2 separate regions of the Homo sapiens genome follow, and region 1 is linked to region 2. Evidence: promoter capture Hi-C in 16 types of primary human blood cells and fetal thymus (Javierre and others, 2016). All regions are on one chromosome and are shown on one strand. Each heading gives the region's core, a stretch centred on a gene start or on the middle of the fragment in contact. The rest is flanking DNA. Distances are from core to core; before and after follow the strand shown.

What was found. Contacts are between HindIII fragments. The CHiCAGO score rates a contact against its expected background, and 5 or more counts as called.
Region 1: a fragment that was not itself captured here is called in contact with the fragment with the promoter of MYBL1 in region 2 in 2 of 17 cell types (fetal thymus and total CD8 T cells); the score reaches 11.2 in fetal thymus.

Annotation. Positions count from the first base shown.
Region 1 is chr8:67,341,676-67,346,922 of GRCh38, forward strand. ARFGEF1 (ARF guanine nucleotide exchange factor 1) reads right to left here and starts at 2,106. Exons shown (of 39, transcript NM_006421.5): 1 at 1,489-2,106. The coding sequence starts at 1,612. It overlaps ARFGEF1-DT (ARFGEF1 divergent transcript), which reads left to right and starts at 2,159. Exons shown (of 5, transcript NR_136224.1): 1 at 2,159-2,627. RefSeq lists an enhancer at 1,120-1,800 and silencers at 1,727-1,956, 2,137-2,396. The HindIII fragment of the contact is 177 bases long and covers 2,837-3,013 here.
Region 2 is chr8:66,611,201-66,616,964 of GRCh38, forward strand. MYBL1 (MYB proto-oncogene like 1) reads right to left here and starts at 2,018. Exons shown (of 16, transcript NM_001080416.4): 1 at 1,619-2,018. The coding sequence starts at 1,638. It overlaps LOC105375884 (a long non-coding RNA gene), which reads left to right and starts at 2,349. Exons shown (of 2, transcript XR_929015.3): 1 at 2,349-2,452; 2 at 2,845-4,658. RefSeq lists a silencer at 1,785-2,304 and enhancers at 2,535-2,674, 2,725-2,804, 2,815-2,864. The HindIII fragment of the contact is 2,770 bases long and covers 495-3,264 here.

The sequences.
Region 1 (5,247 bases), core at 1,675-4,174, 730 kb after region 2:
TATAACAATTCTTTTAAAAATCCTGAAATCACTTTCTCCCCAGTCTCACTCCAATTTAATATTATTCCTTTCAGGATCTAGATATAAATACAGTTTTTGCCACTAGACAACTGTCTTCTCATACACCGGGAACAGTCTTTTGTTAGCTACAAAAATAACAAAATGCAAACTTCTGGTCGATAAGTAAGGTGAAAAAATAATCTTAAGCCCCTAATACTACACATTCAAATGTTTTAAGATGAAATTTCTTCGACGTTTTTCATATTACCAATTTTAACGATCTAGGAAAAAAAAACTACAGTATATTACAGCAAATTAAATGGTAGTCTTCCATTTAATAATTAAAAGCTAATTTTAAGTTGTCTAGACTCCTTAACTCTAGCATACTTTAAGTTATTGTGGATTTTTCCCCTTTCAAGAATGCTTTTTTGTAAAGCCCATTTAACAAGCTTCCTTTTCTTGCCAATTTGACCTAGTGTATTTCCAGTGCTATAAAGTGTAAACATTAGGAATGTATCTTTGTGTTAAATGTTCTGGTCTCTCAAACGATTTCAACTTTGATGGATGCAATAGATCTAACAATGTTCCCCCTTTAACAACTCCTCATCTGCCTAACCTCATAGGTAGGAGGTATTGTTTGGATTTTCCCTGCTGCGGGCTTCATTACACTAGATCTCTTCCATCTGAACTATAAATCACAATTCAAGCTTGAGAGCAGCTGCCACTGTCCAGACATGTGGCTGGTGGGTGTCATTGTCTTTTTCATTTTCCTCATTTCAAACCCTCCCTTCCCTTGTCACCTAAAGCCATTTTATCTAAAGGTTCTTTGCTTCCCTGCTTTCATGCCGCCACCCCCACCCTCACCCCTTAACCACCGGTCTTGTTCTTCCAGGTCAGCCCAGTCAGATACAATATTACTCTATGTTTTTCCTGTGGCGGAGGCGGAGAGATGTCAGAACGGGCTGCACCTCTTGCAAACCCCTTCTCAAGACTGTCAACAAGGAAACAACTTCAGCAGCCTATCTCCCCAAAGTACCTCGCCAAACGAAAAAGTTATTGTTAATTATGATACGGAACCTTTCCCACACCCAATCTTGACATACCAGCCCCACCTCAATTTCCAAGCTAATAAACAACAGCTCATCTTCTGCTTCATCACAAAGGGTGGTATCCAGTCCGCACCTCACGGACCACCAACAAAATCCTCTCACTCTCAAGTCGATCCCTCGAACCCAGGTGCCCCGCGATCCTAAGCCCTGCCGCGTTTCCCGAGCCCAGCTCACTGCCCTTCCTCCTCTACCCCGCCTCTGCCCCACATCCAGCCGAGTTCCTGTCAACTCCAGACAGGGAACAGAGGGCTCCGCGAGGGCTTCCCGAGGTCAGAGGCGCGGGCCTCGGGCAAGCCCCGGGCGACCCCACCCCCCCACAGGCGCCCCCCTCCCCGCCCCACAACAAGCACCCCATCCCCCGGGCCTCCTCCCCGCTCACCTAACGCCACCTCGCAAGCTTTGCGCAGCTGGGAGTGATGCGCCTTCTTCACTTCCTTGTCGGCCAATATCTTCTCCAGAGCCCGGGTCAGGAACATGTTCTTCGTCTTCTTCCCCTCATACATGGACGCAGAGAAGGAGGCGGCGGCTCGTCCGACCCGCGGCTCCCAGCGGCTGGAGGGGAGGAGGAGGAGAGGAAGGAAGAGAAGAGAGAAAGGAGAGGGGGTGGAGGTGGGGGATTGGAGGCGTGGAGGGCAGCGGCAGGATCAGGAAGGGGCGGGCGAGCGGGACCAGCCGCGGTGTCGGCGAAGGGCGTCGAGGTCCTCGCCGCCCCCAAGAAGCCGTACCTCGAGGGCCGCGCCCGTCGGGCCTCCGCTTCTCCCGGCCCGGGGGTCGCGTCCCGGCCGCCCCTCTCACTCGTCCCTCCGGCCCTGGTGGCGGTGAGGGAGCCCGGCCCGGGCGGCTGTCTGCCGGGAACTGAGGGACGAGGTGGCGGCGGCTCTCAGAGGCACCGCGAGAGAAGGGCTACCCTGGCTACTGTGGGGATTAGCACCCGCCGCGGCCGCGAACTGGCCCCCATCACCGCCGACCTGCCCCGGCCGCCATGTTGGGAGGAAACGACGCGTCACGCAGCGGCCGAACGGCTGCAGACGAGGAAGCGGCGGCGGCGGCGGCGGCGGCGGCGCTCCCTGCCCAGAGCTGCCGCGGCGCCGGGAGGCTGGGGGCGGAGGGCGGCGCGGGAGGAGCGGCCCGAGCCGCAGCGCTACGGCGGCCCGGCGGGGCCTCCAGCGTTCGCCTGCAGGGCGGCGTGGGGCGTGGCGGGCCTCTGGTGGCACCGCGCCCAGCACTTCGGGCTCTTGGTGGCGGCCGAGCTGCGGGACCAGAGATCCCCCCACTCGGCACCCCTGCTCCTGCCGAGTGAACAGGACTCCTGGCTACTCTGCACTGGCTTTCTAACTTTCTGATGGGGGTGCAGTCCTTTGCATTCCAGGGGTCACAGCAACACCCGCATCGCCCGTTCTCAGCCGCAGGGTCTCCGCCTGCATCACTCGACTCTAAAATTTCCTTCCCTAGTGCACGGAACTGCTGTCCAGGACTCTGCTCTCCGACTACCTCAGGGAGGATTCTGTTTTGGGAAAAGTAAGCCAAAACCTATTGATAAGGGTTCAAAAATGTTTCACTTTTTTCTCTCTCTGTCGGATAAATCGGTCAACTCTAGATTTCAGGTCCCTTCTGAATTGACTCAGTTAAGGTGAATGGTTGTGAATGAGGTCCCTTAGAGTTCTGTGTTTCTGTGCCTTTAATACTAAGATTTAGTCCAGGACATGTAAACCAGTTTAGAATGGAAAAGCTTTAAGTACAAACAGATTAACACACGTGACCATGTGTTTGCTTTAGTCTGAGTGTAGAACTCAAATTTCTGCAGTATTTAATTTCTACAGTTTCCTTCTGAGCAGAAAAAGAATACCATAAAAATATTTGCAAACATTATATATGGTGATCTAGGGTCACGTCTCCAAGTTCTAAGCTTCTGTGGCTCCACGCACACAGGTTCCCTAATGTTTACTATGCATCTGTCACTGTTCTGTTCTATTAGATTGCCTTAACTATAGGCTTGTCCTAACGTAACCATCCAAACCTAAGGAAGGAGAAACTTAAGTGACTCTGTGAACTTAGTGAAGTGACCAGATTTAGGAAGGCTAAAACCCAGAGGAAATAAAATGGAAAACTTGAAGGTGACAAATTAAAGTGGAAAAATAGATTAATTTTTTTAAACTTTATTGTCCTGAGAAACAAATCTATAAATTCATTAATTTTATTTTAGAGACTATCTCTAGATTCCTGGAAATGAAGGATTCATTATACTCTTAGATCAGATATAATACTGATTTCTGTGTATACGTTAATAAACTTTTTTAGAACAAGTTCCATTTCTTTTATTTTTTTCTTCCCTTCTTTCACAGGTGTTGATCCATTTCTAATTCATCTTTGTTTCTTCATAATGGAGTGTTGTGCCAGGTACTGTTGAGGGTACTAGCTGATCACCAAACCCATTTACTCTTCTTTCTTAGTATAGAATTGCATTGTCCAGCCTCCCTTGAAGTTAGGTGTAGCCATCCAGGCTTAACCTATTGTTAAAAAACCAACAAGAAATTCCCACAAGCAATCTTTCATGCTGTTTCCCTTTTTTTTTTTTTTCTTTTGGTAGAGATGGCATCTCACCATGTTGAACTCGTGGCCTCAAGCGATCCTCCTGCCTCAGCCTCCCAGTGCTGAGATTACAGGCATAAGCCACCATGCCCAGTCTCTCTTTTCCCTTCTATGGCCACAGCTGAAGATGGCAGAACCACAAGTTAGGAGTCTTAGTTTCTGAATTGGAACTCTTGGAGAAGAACCATCTAGAATAACTATTTTGTACTTTACATGAACGAAGCAGACTCTTCGGTTATGTTTAGCTGTCAGCTTTATCGTAAAACATACTTGGGATTCATTGATGAACAAGACAAGCTGGCACCTGTAGTCCCAGCACTTTGGGAGGCCAAGGCAGGAGAATGGCTTGAGGCCGGGATTTGCAGATGAAACTGGGCAACGTAGCAAGACACTGTCTTTACAAAAAATAAAGAAAAATTAGCCAGGCACGGTGGCATCCACCTGTAGTTGCAGCTGCTCAGGAGACTGAGGAGGAAGGATCGCTTGAGCTCAGGAGTTCGAGGCTGCAGTGAACTATGATATGATAGTGCCACAGCATTCATAATCATCTCATCTGCTTGCCTTGCTTGTTGATTGGTTGCATGTTTCTCTCATAAGTGCAGGGACCTCATATCTCTGTCTATTCACTTCTGTGTGCCCATCATCTATTATATTGCTGGCATAGAGAAGGCCTTTGCTATAAACTTATAGAAACTTGGATAAATGAAAGGCACCAGGCTAAGACAAGCATGATACCTGCCCTTTTGGACCTTACAGTATAGAGTAGGGAAAAGATATTAAGTCAGTAGTGAATATACAATTACAAATCTGTTGAGTATGATTAAAGAATAGAGTGCTGTGAGAGAAGGGAGAAGTAAATTAAATTGAGACCTGAAAGAAGAGTAGACATTAGCCAAACTAAGTCATGAAGAACTTTCCAGGCAAAGTCTCTTGGGGTAGGGGGAAGCTTGGCAAGTTTCAGGAAACAAAACAAGGCAGTGTGGCTGAAAGGATCAAGGAGAATGGTGCCAGTCAGGATGAAGAGGGAGCTAGGAACCAGATCATTCAGACTCTCGTAGGCCATGTTAGGGGGTTGCAATTTCATCGTAATAACAATGGAAATTCATTGAAAGGTTTTAAAAGTGGGGGATAAAGTGATCAAATTGGTGATTTTAAAATAATCCCTCTGTTACATGGAGAATGGATTGGAGGGGGAGAAGTGAGGATGTGGCAAAACATTTTAAGAAATTTATTACAACAGCGCAGGATGGCTTGGTCAGGTCCAGGGCCACCAAGCAAGGTTGTGGAGATCGTGGCACAAGGGAGCAAGTGTGGCTGAAATCCAGCCCCACTGTCTGCCCAAAAGAAGAGGCTTCTTTCACTAATTTGCATAAAGGTTAGCCCAGAAATGACAGTGGTAGCATGGAGATGGAGCAAAGTAGACAGATTTGGGATATACTTTGGTGGCAGAATAAACCGGACTTAATTAACTGGAGTGCAGGTTAGAGAGAGAAAGAGGTCACAAATGAATACCAGGTTTCTGCTGGGAACCAGTGAACAGTTGGAAATG
Region 2 (5,764 bases), core at 768-3,267:
AGAAACTGTTTCAAATAAGATTAACATCAATACTGATAAGTAGATAATATCACACATTAATAAACTTGTTATTGAGTTAACATATTCAATTGTCATCTTATTTTTAAATTTTTTTATATTTAAAAATTCAAAAAGCCTAAACCAGTACTTCGGCAATCATAATTACAAGAGCTTTAAATATCTATCTTTTCTGAAGATTGATGTTAATTGGGTCCTTGAAGTTCTAGAAGGGTGGTTCTTTCCTGGGTGATTTTGTCCCCCAAAAGATATTTGGCAATGTCTGGAGACATTTTTACTGTCATGACTGAGGGAAGTGGAGTGTTACTATCTCTACTGGGTAGAAGCCAGCGATGCTGCTAAACATCTCCCCATTACAAAGAATTATCTGGTCCAAGATGTCAATAGTGCAAAGGCTGAAAACAGTTTTAGAGGGGTCTGTGTACACATTTATTTCATCTCAAGAGTTTGTCCTATAACTTACTTCAAAACTAATAAGCTTACAGAGACTTAAGGATTTCTGCAGAAGCATCCTGCACACAGCAGATGCTTAACAGAAAACTAAGGAAAAAACAATTATGTATAGTTACTGCCAATTTTTAGCAGAACTCTGCAATGAATGACCCCCATTACTAAATTTCAACTTAGGAAATACATCTCTAGTTAAGATTTTGGGGCTGTGGATCTAGATAAATAAATATTTGGAAATCCTGCCAAACATCTTTTCAGGTTTATTTGATAATGCTGAAAATCGGAAGACATCCTATATTTTTGTTATCTAAGCAATTACTCCACATAATTTATGAGTAGCTGCTGTAATGGCATGTAAACGAAAATTAGATGCATAAATTCATCCTAGCACATTTTCCAGGCAAAGGTGGAAAAAAGTGCCTTACCTCTGTGGAACACTTAGGTACGGTCAGAGCCAAACACAGACACTCAAAATATTAAGTGAATCAAACACATTGTTTTATTTCAAGATCAAGCTACTAGTTGTTACTACTAGTTGTTACTATGTGACATGGTCCCAAGAGAGGATATTAAAATATACATATATACATAAAGCTGAGCATATGGGTATAGGAATTACAGAAAACATCAAAAAAGTCCTCTCAGCTATTCCCCAGAGGATTTTCCACAACGTTTCAAGATAGCCAAGTTGGCAGAGGGGTGGCCGCCCAGGTTCACCGCGGAGTTCCTATTTTGACTGTACCGTCATTCAGAAAAGAGTCGCCCGAACACCATTTTCAAGTCCTCCCGGCAGGACACAGTCAGTTTTCTCTGCGTAGCGGACTCCCTAAAAGCGCTCGACTTACCTGGCAAGAAACCTGCCTCGAAGAAGTGGCAGCATGAGGTCAGAAATCTGGACGCGCATTACGGGGAGAGTCACCGAGAAACCTGGGCATCTCTTACGTCCCGCGCCTCAAACACCCTGGTCCCCAACTCTCCACACGTCGCAGCTGCCCTCCGGTCATCGAGGCCAAGCGGCCGCGGGGACGCGGGAAGAAAAACCTCTGCCCTCGCCAGGGAGGGCCTTATGGCGGGAGGGGGCAGCGGGATAGGAAAGAGAATCTGAGCCGAGACGGCGCCGACAGGCCTGGGCGAAAGGGGTGCCACCCACCTGCGCGACCTCTTCGCCATCCTTCAAGTACCGCATAGGAGCAGGCTGGGCGGGGACGCGGGTCAGCCTCCTCCAGCCTCCGGCGAATGCTCCTTCTCCCCGATCCTCTAGCCGCTTCCCTCGCTCCCTCTGGAGGCGGCCGAGTGCGGAACGCACGTCCTCGACAGGGCAGGACGGAGGGACAGCGGGGGCGGACCGCGACCCGACCCCGACCCCGGCCCGCAGCGCCGCTCTTAGCCCCGGCCCGGCCCGGCCAGGGATACCCCCAACATGTCAGGAGGCGCGATCCCGCCCTCCGCCGGCTTCTCCCGCCGCTTGTCAGCCTCCCTGCCCTGGCCCCAGCCCGGCTCCGCCACAGGCGCCCGACCCCTGCCCTCTCCCCCGCAGCTAGCAGTTCTGCAGGGCTCGCAGTCTCCTGCAGGGTTTTGTCCGCACCGCCGAATCTCGCGCCCAGCCTCCCTCAAGAGCCGCCGTTTGAATCTGCGCACGCGGCCCTGAACCTCATTGGCTGTGGGGGCCGCACGCGAAGAAGCGAGGGCGGGGAGGGGAGAGCGCGCGCGGCTGAGGGCGGGGCTGGGGAGCTGGAAGCTGGGACTGGAACTCGCGGGAGTCGGGGAAGGAGCCGGGAGCCAGGGGGTGGGGCCGCGGGTGGGGCCGTAGGTGGCGCATGCGAGCCGAGCTGTCATAGGACCCGGAACGCGCCGAGAGGCGCACCGCGCGGGGCCTGCTGGGAGAGCGAGTTCCTGCGCTCGCCGAGGAGTGGGTCCGGAAGCGGCGCCGGAGCGGGTCCGGAAGCGGGCGGTGGAGAAGTCCAGTTGCCCCAAAATTCTTAGGGTGAGCGAACCGAGTTTCTGGCGGGGTGGGTGGTCCCGCGGCCCACCAAGGGAACGTCTCCGCAGCCTCGCCTCGGCGACAGCTCCTGGCTCCTTAGGTGTCTTCCGCCTCACTAGTTAGGATGCGCGGTCTTCAGACTTGAGACAAATCTAACCATAAATTTGCGCGGCCGTTATTTTTTAAGCAAAAATGTGAGCTATTTTTACCCAGACATCATAGTTACGAGAGTGACGAAGACTCTGGCAGGAAACCAAATATCACCTGTTTTCCTCAAAAAGCAGCAGAAGAGTGACAAGTGAAAAAAGTTCCTAGCGGGAGACGTGCTTGGAACCGGAGATAATCTGTGTCTACCGCTGGTCTTCAAGGTGCTTAATTTCGTGCCCGCTCTACAGGAAATAACGTGCGCGGCGGAGGAGCCCTGTCCTGGAGAATAACGCGTGAAGAAGACAGTGGACTGGGCATTTCGTCCAGATGAATGAGCATGGTAGTTAAGTGTAGAAGGTGACCTTCTTCCCTCTGGAGAGACCAGGGAGGGGGGAACCACCGGAGGAGTTTCTAGCGGTTGCAGCTACTTGAGGTTCCAGTCTAATAACTACGAACTGTTCATTTCAAGTAGCATTAAAGTAGATTTGCTACAGTAACAATTACACTTGGCTAAGGAAAATTTGCAAGGCAACATGGTCTATTGCATAGAGCACTGAGCCACATGTTAACACTGTAACAAACACTTGCTATTTTGAAATTTTACGCTTCATCTTTTGCAAATCAGATGCAGGTGCAGAGTGAATTAAGAGGAGCTGAATTAAGAGAGAAGCTTGCATGCACTGCTGTCAAAACCTAAACACACTGGCTTTTTTTTTTTTAACAGTTCCTTTTTTCAAGGTATAGATTCTGGGAAGGTAAGGGAAGATAAAACAGCTTTTCTTTTTCTCTCCTGTTTTTTTTTTTGTTGTTTTTTTTTTGAGACTAGGTCTCACTCTATTCCCCATGCTGGAGTGCAGTGGCACAATCATAGCTTACAGTAGCCTCGAACAGCGATCCTCTTGCCTCAGCCTCCAAAGTAGCTGGGACTACAGGCGCGCGCCACAACACCTGGCCAAGCGTTTCTTCCAGATCATTCCTTACTGGGTTGCTGGTTCAGTAAAAATAAAAAAATAAAAAATAATTTAGAAATGAGTTCCCAAATTTCATTATGTTCCCAATGTCATTTGGAATCACTGTTTCACTGTTTTCTTATTTACCCCTGGGTCGTACATTACTTCACTTATTTATATCTAACAGGAAGCAGAGCTTCTGCTATATTTTAGGCTGTATTCAGTTTTATACAGAATACCTTTTTTAGAGCTTGAAGACAAATGTTTTAGATTTTGACAGTAAAACAAATTTCCCTCATTTTTACATATAGAGAAAAGCAATTCCCAGAAAGATAACATTGTGAAATTACTGAAATCAGTTATAAAACTCAGGGCAAAGTGTGGAATTAAAGTGGTTCACAGTCATTTGAATACACATACTCAGATGTATTCTAAACTAAGATGAGTTTTTTTTTAAGCAAACGTTTAGAGATTTTATTCAGAGTATATAAAGAACTCTCAAAACTCAGTGAGAAAAAAAGCATTTAAAAAATGGGCAAAAGATTTAAACAGATTTCACCAAACGAGATATATATATACATACACACACACACACACACACACACACACACACACACACACGACAGGCATATTAAATGATGTTCCACCTCATTAGTCATTAGAGAAATGCAAATTAAACCACAATGAGATACTAGACTACACTTCTGTTAGAATGAGCGGGGAAAATGACTGACTATACAAATGTTGGTGAAGATGAAAATGCTGAGCAAGTACAACTTGCATACATTGCTGTTAGGCATGCAGAATTCAGCCATTTTGCAAAACATTTATAGTGGCTTTGTTTTGTTTGTTTTTTAATTTTTGTGGGTACATAGTAGGTGTATATATTTGTGGGGTACATGAGATGTTTTGATACAGGCATGCAATGTGAAATAATCACATCATGGAGATGGGGTATCCATCCCCTTGAGTATTTATCCTTTGTGTTACTTTTAGTTATTATAAATTTTAGTTATTTTAAAATCTACAATCAAGTTATTGACTCTAGTCAACTTGTGCTGTCAAATAGTAGGTCTTTTTTTTTTTTTTTTTTTTTTTTTTTAGACAGTCACTCTGTCACCCAGGCTGGAGTGCATTGGCGCGATCACCACTCACTGCAACCTCCACCTCCCATGTTCAAGCAATTCTTGTGCCTCAGCCTCCCAAGCAGCTGGGATTACAGGCATGTGTCACCATGCCCGGCTAATTTTTGTGGTTTTTGTTTTTTGAGACAGAGTCTCACTCTGTCACCCAGGCTGGAGTCCAGTGGCATGATCTTGGCTCACTGCAACCTCTACCTCCCGGGTTCAAGAAATTATCCTGCCACCCCAGGCTAATTTTTTGTATTTTTAGTAGAGATGGGGTCTCACCATGTTGACCAGCCTGGTCTGGAACTCCTGACCTCAGGTGATCCTCCCGCCTCGGCCTCCCGAAGTGCTGGGATTACAGGCATGAGCCACCATGCCTGGCCTAATTTTTGTATTTTTAGTAGAGACGGGGTTTTGCCCTGTTGGCCAGGCTGGTCTCAAGCTCCTGACCTCAGGTGATCCGTCCATCTCAGCCTCCCAAAGTGCTGGGATTACAGGCATGAGTCACTGACCCTGGCCTTTTCGTAACGTTTTTAGAGATGGGGTCTAGCTGTGTAGCCCAGGCTGGATTGCAGTGGTGTGATGATAGCTCACTGTAACCTTGAACTCCTGGGCTCAAGCAGTCCTGCTGCTTCACCGTCCTCAAGTGCTGGGATTATAGGCATGAGCCATCTATGCCTAACTAGGGCCATTCTTTAGAGATGCTGGTGTGGTTACTAAAACAATCTTCCTTGGGCTTCTTGCACTCCTATATACATCTTGCTGGGTGTGCCTAGATTGCAAGGCCCTGAGTACTCTTTTACACAGGCCATTTCTAAGGGTTATTTGCAGCTAGTTGCCTTGAGAGATGAGGTAACATCTCAGTCCAAGACAAAAACTAGGTTTACTTACTGCTTACTATAAAAGCAGTGGATTCCCAAGTTGAGTGTTTCTCAACTGTAGCACAAATCCACTCTATGCATGACATCCATCTGGTACCATTACATTGCCCCATGGGACCTGAAAGCAAGAATAACTGGCACAAATATGTTGATGCTCAAGGTGTTTGCTGTGCTGTAAGTAATACCAACACTTTGTCCCCAACCTTAGAG